Linked DNA regions of Homo sapiens: region 2 is linked to region 1. The links are contacts of gene promoters, found by promoter capture Hi-C in human tissues and cell types (Jung and others, 2019). All regions are on one chromosome and are shown on one strand. Each heading gives the region's core, a stretch centred on a gene start or on the middle of the fragment in contact. The rest is flanking DNA. Distances are from core to core; before and after follow the strand shown. Region 1 holds the start of CAMKK1 (calcium/calmodulin dependent protein kinase kinase 1). Region 2 overlaps RAP1GAP2 (RAP1 GTPase activating protein 2).

Region 1 (4,249 bases), core at 289-2,788:
AGGGACCAGCAGGTGCAAACGCCATGAGGGGACAGTGCTTGCTCAGTATGAAGAACAGCAGGGAGGCTGACGTGGCTGGAGTGGAGTCTTCCCCACATAAGAGGCACCTGATAGCAAGAGGAGTTACATCTGGAGAGAAAGCCCCCTCACTCATTGTGCTGGCCTCAGGGATGGCTTCCTAGAGGAGGTGGCACCTGAGCTCTCTTCTGAGCACTGAGCAGGATTTCAGGATGAGGCGAGGATGGAAGTTTGCACTGTGCATATAGGAGAGTCATTTCCTGGCTGGGACTCCGGGCTTGGTTTGGGGGTGGGGAGAGCTTGGTGGACAGAGCCCAGGAGGCCCCCAAAGCCAGGGGGAGGTTGTGAGCAGGGGAGTGCCTCGGTTAGGTGAGGTTTAAAACGACTCCCATGGCTGCTGTGAGGACTGACGGTGGGAGACCGAGGAAGAGGCGAAGGGTCCCCAGAGTGTGTGCGCCTGGGACGCAGTGGGGGGTCAATTTGTATGTACTGGAGGAAAGAGGGCAGGGCTTGGGGAGGCCAGCGCCACTTCCCTGGGATCCTCCAGCGCGCACAGGCTGTGTGCCCCTCCCACACTCCTGTGCCCGCCCTGCGGACACCACCAAGGCCCGGTCCTGTGGCCTGTGACACAGCCTTCTCTGCACAGCCCTGCAACGCCAAGACTTGAGCACACCCCCTCCCCTGACAGGCACACGCCCGTGTCCGCGTGACCCGCCCTCACACACCACTCCATCCTGTCCTGCACCCCCCACGCAGACACAGGCACACTCCCGCGTCCACGTGACACACGCACACCCGCCTCCAAACAGCACACGCAGGTCCCTGCGCACGTGGACACCCCCCCAGCCACCAGCCCTGCGCCTCCCGGGCCCCGAAGCCGCAGCGCCCGCCTCTGCCGCCCCCTCTCGCCCCAGCCAAGGCAGGACCCTGCGCAGCCTGAGCCGCGCGCCGCCGCCGCCCCATTCATCTCCCACCCCGCCCCCGGCTCCTGCAGGAAGACGCTCCGGCGGGCCGTGGGAGGAGCGCTCCGCGGAGAACCGCACGTGGGTGCCCCGGGCCGGGCCCACTCCGCACAGACGTGGCCTCCACCAGGAGCCGGGCGCGGGGGACAGTGCACCGGGGATGGATGCGGTCCGCAGACAGAAGCGGGGAAGAACGCAGACGGCGGGGCACCCGCGGCGATGCGGTCCCGGCGGCCGGCGCAGACCCGAGCAGACTCCGCGAGGCACCCCGCAGACCCGGCCCCGCAGACAGAAGGGGAAGGATCCCCGCCCTGACCAGATCCCAGCTCCCTCGTAGACGCGGCCTGGCAGACCCCCCCCGCCTCTCCCTTGCAGGCTCGGGGCAGGTGTTAAGGCGTTCGTCCTCCTGCTCCTCGCCCGCGTCCCCGCCCCGCCGATCCCTACCTGGGCGCCGGGCGACAGTGTCCGCGGCCCGGCGGGCGGCCCCACTCGCTCCTGCTGCGCGCCCCGCCCCGCCCCGCCCCGCCCCACCGCCTCGCTGGGGCCCAGATCGCCGAGCTCAGCCCGCGGGCGCCGCGGCTCCGGGCAGCGCTCGCTGCCCCGCCCACCGCCGCGCCCGGCCGGCGCTCATTGGTCGGAGCGAACGGCCCCGCCAGCGCCGCCCAATCGGAGCCCGGGACTCCCGCCCCCTCCTGGACTAAGGGACCGCGGTGGGCGGCGCGGTAGGGGCCCTCCCTCCCCTGCGGCGGGGCCGACCTCGCCACGCCCCCGGCGTCCTGGGGTCCCCGAAGTCCCTCCCGGCCGCGGCGTGGGCCCTTCTCCTGGGCCTGCAGGGGACCGTGCTTCCCCGCCAAACCCTTTGCGCCCCCATCCCGGCCTGCAGGAGCCAGAGCGCCCCTCCCTCCCGGGCGAGGCGCGGTGCGTGCGAGGGAGGGGCGAGGCCCGGGGAGGAAGGCCTTGAATGGCAGGCCCAGGAGTGTAGCTTCTGCGGGGCGGGGGCAGAGAGGCCGAGAGGTGGCTTAGCACAGAGTGAAGTGCTTGCTCGGTGAGCCGGCGACAGGAATGGCCTAGCGAGGGCCGAGGGAGTAGAGGGAACTCAGCAGGACAGTGAGGTGACCTTCGCTGTGGCTGTTCCTGGGGACTCTGCCGCCACCTCTTCCCCTAACGCCTCCGCGTGTGAATCCTCTGGCACCACCACTTGCCCCATATCCTTCCCCCAAATCTAACCTCCTGCGTCCCTGTCTCGAAGTGGAGCCAGGAGCCTGGGAGTCACCTGCTGCCTCCCTGTTTCCTGCTCCAACCAGTCCATCTCCAGGCCCTGCCATACTGCCTCTTAACTATCCCTGGAATCGGCCCACTCCTCTCCACCCCACTTCCCCTCCCTTAGCTCAGGCTACCACCATCTTGTCCCTGATTGCTGCAGCAGCCTCCTCCCTGGCCTCCAGCCCCATCCAGTCTCACCTCCTACTAGCCTTTCTCTCCCTGGCACCCAGAGCAAGTTTTCAGGAACACAAGTCCACCGAGAGGCATTTTCTATGGCTCACCGTGAGAATAGGTCTAATCAAGCCCTGTATAGCCTTACTCCCAGCCACCTGCCTGTTTAACGCCTACTCGTCTTTCAGGGTTCAATTCAATCCTACTTCTGCCTGGAAACCTTCTCCATGACCTCCCCACTTCCAGCATGGGTTAGTGGCCCCACCCAGGTACTTCCTTGTACCTGGCATCTGTTTACCTGCTGGTTCCTCATTGGGACTGGGAGCTCCTGGATGGCAAGCACTGTGCCTGATTCGTCCAGCACACAGCCTGTCGCATGGCACAGGTGCTCAGTGGATGTTGTTGAATGAATAATTCCAGCAACTTGAGTGTGGCTTTTGACCTCATGGTTCAGGATACCAGCTAGAGCTCCAGCAATCACATAACGCATTCCAGGCAGTGGAGTGGAGAAAAGGATGAAGAAGAGGGCAGAGGGTCTGCACCAGCTCTCTTTTCAGGAAAGTTCCCAGAAGTTGCCACGTGGCACTTTCACATACACCGCTTGAGCTTACTTAACATGACCAGACCCAGCTGCAAGAGAAAGCTGGGAAATGCAGCTTCCATTCTGGGCAGCCACATGCCCAACCAAGAACCAAGGACTGAATTGCTACCGGGAGAACAGATATCCGGAACAACTAGTGGACTCCACCATTGAGAGGGTGGATAGATTGAGGGGCAGAGCTCGACTGTATGCCAGGTGCTGTTTACAGGTCTTTCCTCAACCCTACTAAAAGCTATTATTGTCCGGGTGCAGTAGCTCATGCCGGTAATCCCAGCCCTTTGGAAGGCTGAGGTGGAGCGTATCATTTGAGCCCAGGAGTTTGAGAACAGCCTGGTCCACATAGTGAAACTCTGTCTCTATTTAAAAAAAAAAAAAAAAAGAAGTTGTTATTATCCTTGACTCACAGAGGAGGCTTGGAGAGTTAAGCCACTTCCCCCAAGGACACACAGTGAACTGTGGCAGAGCTGCAATTGAAACCTGTCTTTTCCTTGCACGCCAGACAGGCTGGGAAGTCAGGAAAGGGTGTGTCCTAGGAGCTGCTGGAAGGAAATCTTTCGACAAGGAAGGCTTGGACAACAATGTGAGAAGCTGTCAGGCCAAGCAGGATATGGGGCCCAAGTGTCTGCTTAAGACTTGGCAACCAGGACACTGCCAGTGACCTTGGCAAGGGCACCTAGGAGAAGTGGTTGGGGTGGAGGCCAATTGCAGAGGGAAGTGTGGACTGGTCTTTCTGGAAGGGTTGCAGTGAGGGGAGAGGGGCAGAGCTGCTGGGGAACCTGGGCCAGGAGGAGGCAGAAGAGGGGGACAGATGTAGGGGTAGGAGAATGGAGGTGGCTTCTGCTGGGCAGCCTCTGGGCTGGGTGGTGAGGCTGAATACAGAGGAGGGACCCTTTTCTGCTCACTTGGAAGGGAAGGGGGCAGAAAGTGCAAAAGCAGGTGTGTCTGGAGAAAGAAGGGGGGGCAGAAGAGGAAGTTCCAGTCTTATAAAATCTAAATGATAGGTCTTGGTTGGGGAAGAGGGCAGAAGGCCAAGGCCCTGAGGGAGATGGCAGGGGCTGGCCTGTGTTGTCCAGTCTGGTAGCCACTAGTCACATGTAACTATTTAAATTAATTAAAAGTAAATTGGGCAGTCATGGTGGCTCCCGCCTGTAATCCCAGCACTTTGGAAGGCCGAGGCAGGCGGATCACCTGAGGTCAGGAGTTTGAGACCAGCCTGGCCAACCAACATGGTGAA
Region 2 (3,812 bases), core at 1,269-3,768, 1.0 Mb before region 1:
GTCTCCAATGTCACCTAGCTCGTATAACAGAGCTGGGATTCCAATCTGTCTGGTGCCAAATTCTATGCTTTTTCTCCCACCACCAATTATATGGTGACCCTGGCTGAGGTACTTAACACCCCCGTGCTACAGTCCAATGAAGTAGATTGAAGTGCAGCTCAGAGAGACCAGGTGTCCTGGTCAAGACTCCAAAACTCTGTTTTGGGTCTCCTGTTAAGGAGTTAAGAACTCTGGCACCCTAGAACATTCTGGTTGTTTTTAAAGGAAGGGATCAGATGGGTCTCTGGAACAGCTGGGCTTCTTTTGAATGCTTAGCCTGAGCTAAGGGGAGGGTGGAGCCTAGAGCAGGGAAAGGTCTGTCCTGTCAGGTGTCAGATAAGCTGAAAGGTCTCCTGGCTGCTGGCCTCACTAATGAGAACAGAAATTCTCACTTCTCGATATGAACTGGAAGGTCCCGGCTGCAGCCTGGGTTACCTGTGCCATCTGTATTTTAATAGAACGTCTATTTTAATAAGATCTTTGAGATGCACAGACAGAAACAGCATGTAAATCAATAGGTCACTGAAACAGGCCATCTGAAAACGAGATCTGCAAATGTGCCAGGAAGGGCTTTTGAGAGTGACAGCAATAAATGCCCCTTGTGGATGGCCAGAAGGTCCCCCAAGGGTATGGCCACATGGAGGCAGGACTCAGCCGTGGTGCAAGTGATGGGAACCGAGATGCCTGGCTTCCACATTGCAGCTCCTCTGACCCCCAGCCCCCTTCTAGAAAGGGCTGCCAGCCCTCTTGGTGGCATCTGCCCCTCTCTTTCCCCTCCATGAATGCAAATGCAAGCTGCAGTCCCTCCTTAAATGGATTGTGTCCCAAACGTTCATTCACTCATTCAGTTCACCTCCATCAATATGCGGGTGCCCTCCCTGCCTCCAGCAGCCCATGCTCCTGAAGCAGAGATCAACCATGGAATGTGAATCCAAGACAGAAGAGGGAGGTGTGGAGAAGAGGTGCAGGGAGCCCTGGAGGTCAGAAGAAAGGGGGACCGCCCAAGGAAGGCTGCCTGGAGTTGGTGGCATTTGAAGTGGGCCTCGGGGACTGGACAGGATGTCTGAAGGGAGAGATGGAGTGGGAAGCACATCCCCAAAGGAGACAGTGGAAGACAAGGGGCCAAGATAAAAAAACAGGGGCCCGCTCAGATCCCACCTTGGCTGTGGTGTGGATTCCCTGCTGGGGAACGTGGGAGATGAGGCTGTTAGGGCGGCCTGGGGCCATTTCGTGTTAGGTGTTGAATGCTGGGGAAAGAAGGGCAGGTCAGGCTGTGGGAGGCTTCCCTGCTCCCCGCCTCCCCTAGACTCAGGGCAGTTGGTACCCCAGTTAGAATACAAAAACAGAGTCAGTCAGTGTTATACATGAAACAATTCTGTAACATTTGTGTTATTGTGATTTTTATTAAATAGAGGTTTGGGGCCCAAGGGCCTTTGTGTTGGTGAGGCAGTAGATAATACCCCCAAATGTCCCTTCTGATTGGTAATTTATTTTATTTATTTATTTTATTTTATTATTTTTTGAGGCAGCATCTCCCTCTGTCGCCAGGCTGGAGTGCAGTGGTGCGATCTCGGCTCACTGCAGCCTCCGCCTCCCGGGTTCAAGCGATTCTCCTGTCTCAGCCTCCCGAGTAGCTGGGATTACAGGTGTCCGCCACCAGGTCCGGCTAATTTTTATGTTTTTAGTAGAGATGGGGTTTCACCACGTTGGCCGGGCTGGTCTCGAACTCCTGGCCTCAAGCGATCTGCCTGTCTTGGCCTCCCAAAGTGCTGGGATTACAGGTGTGAGCCACTGCACTCGGCCTATTTTATTTTTTATTTTAGAGATGGAGTCTCACTCTGTCACCCAGGCTGGAGTGCAGTGGTACAATCTCGGCTCACTGCAACCTCCACCTCTCAGGTTCGAATGATTCTTCTGCCTCATTCTCCCAAGTAGCTGGGATTACAGGTGCCCACTGTCATGTCTAGCTAATTTTTGTATTTGTAGTAGAGACGGGGTTTCACCATGTTGGCCAGGCTGGTCTCGAACTCCTGGTGTCGTGATTCCCCTCACCTTGGCCTCCCAAAGTGCTGGGATTACAGGTGTGAGCCACCGTGCCTGGCCTCTGATTGGTCATTTAGCTGATTTAGTCAAGAAACTTTTGGTTTGAAGTGGCAAGCCCCAATTCAAATTAATGTAAAGAAAAAATGAAGCTTTGGGGTTTAGGTAACTGGAAGGTTCAAGGGGGACGGATTCAGGCCTGGCTGGATCGAGAGCTCCAGTGGGGTCTTTGGACACTGGTTCTTTCACCCCGTCTCTAGGCTGTGCCTTCCTTTGGGTTGCCTTCGTCCTCAGGTACCTTATCCACGAAGATGGACGATGGCTGCCCTGGGCTGACCTTCTACCCACTTAGCAATACCAACAGGAAGAGCAAATCTGTTTCCCAATCATTTCAGCAGATGTCCCAGGGATGGCTCACCCTGGACAGAAAGTGAGTCACATACGCATCCCTGAACTTTGGCCAGAGGGGTGGGATACACTGATTCATGAAGTCTAGGTCTTACGCCCACCGCTGGTTCCCGGGATGCAGGGACTTGGCTGGGAGTATAGGAGGGATGGGTCACCTAAGGAAACCTGGCATGTTGCTCTCAGAAGCTCAGGGGATGGAAGCTGGGCAGTAAAAATGCCAACAGCTGTCCACTCTGCTGGCCCTAGTGGCTTAGTTGATGCTGATCTTGGCACGGTCTTGTCAACTTGGCTGGTGGCTGCAGCTGCTGGTACCCTCCCAGACGCAAGGAGGCTTCCTTCTGCCTTGGCTGGATGAGGTGTGCTTTCTTCTTCACGGATGCAGCTCGCGGGATCCCCAAGCCTTTGGTAGTAAACACACTTCCTGGGCTGTCTTTTCTCTGAGTCCATTCTGAACATCAAAGCATTCAGCCTGTGACCGCGCTGGACCTGGTCTGAGAGGACAGCCTGGCTTTGCTCGGGGTTGGCTCTCGGCTCTGGGATTGGATAATGTGTCCCCTTCCTGTTTTGCTTATGCTTTGTGGCACCCAGCTGCCCTCCACCCCAGCAGGTCCGGATTCCTTGAATACAGATTGCCCCTCCTTCCAGACGTCTGGCCAGTGGATGCTTTTGGTTACGAGGCCCTGGCTGAGAGAAGGGCTGGCTCTCTGCTATCCATCCCCCTGGTGGAGGGCCAGGCCCAGAGGAAGTCTCAGAGGTCTTAGAGATAGGCACCTCTAGATGGCAAAAACACGACTGCAGAAGGGCAGAGGAGCGGCCTCAGGAAAAACCCAGGGGGATATATGATCTTGAACGTACATGGTGTCGAAACTGCGGCCCTTGGCTTTCCCATGTGTGAAATGCGACTAAGACTAATGAAAGTCTTTTATGTGTGTAGGCAAAAATCTTATTTAGCAATTCCTCTACCAGGTGCAATTTTTTTTTTTTTTTTTTTGAGATGGAGTCTTGCTCTGTCACCCAGGCTGGAGTGCAGTGGCACGATCTCAGCTCAGTGCAAGCTCCACCTCCCAGGTTCAAGCTATTCTCTTGCCTCAGCCTCTCGAGTAGCTGGGATTACAGGCATGTGCCACTACGCCTGTCTAATTTCTGTATTTTTTAGTAGAGACAGGGTCTCACCATGTTGGCCAGGCTGGTCTCGAACTCCTGACCTCAGGTGATCTGCCTGCCTTGGCCTCCCAAAATTCTGGGATTACAGGTGTGAGCCACTGTGCCCGGCCAGAACAGATAGTGTTTAATTCCACTTTGTCTGTGTCTGTTTGAGCTGCTAT

Evidence for each region. The method cuts DNA at HindIII sites, captures the fragments that hold promoters and counts their contacts. A contact is called where the count stands out against the background at its distance.
Region 2: a contact is called between a fragment that was not itself captured here and the fragment with the promoter of CAMKK1 in region 1, in 1 of the 25 tissues and cell types used here (pancreas).

The regions. Positions count from the first base shown.
Region 1 is chr17:3,891,515-3,895,763 of GRCh38, forward strand. CAMKK1 (calcium/calmodulin dependent protein kinase kinase 1) reads right to left here and starts at 1,539. Exons shown (of 16, transcript NM_032294.3): 1 at 1,425-1,539. RefSeq lists silencers at 846-1,095, 1,236-1,415, 1,446-1,985. The HindIII fragment of the contact is 23,333 bases long and covers 1-4,249 here.
Region 2 is chr17:2,865,058-2,868,869 of GRCh38, forward strand. All of the region lies in intron 2 of RAP1GAP2 (RAP1 GTPase activating protein 2), which reads left to right. Among named protein-coding and RNA genes, the nearest start is that of RAP1GAP2, 71 kb to the left of the region's middle. The HindIII fragment of the contact is 4,532 bases long and covers 253-3,812 here.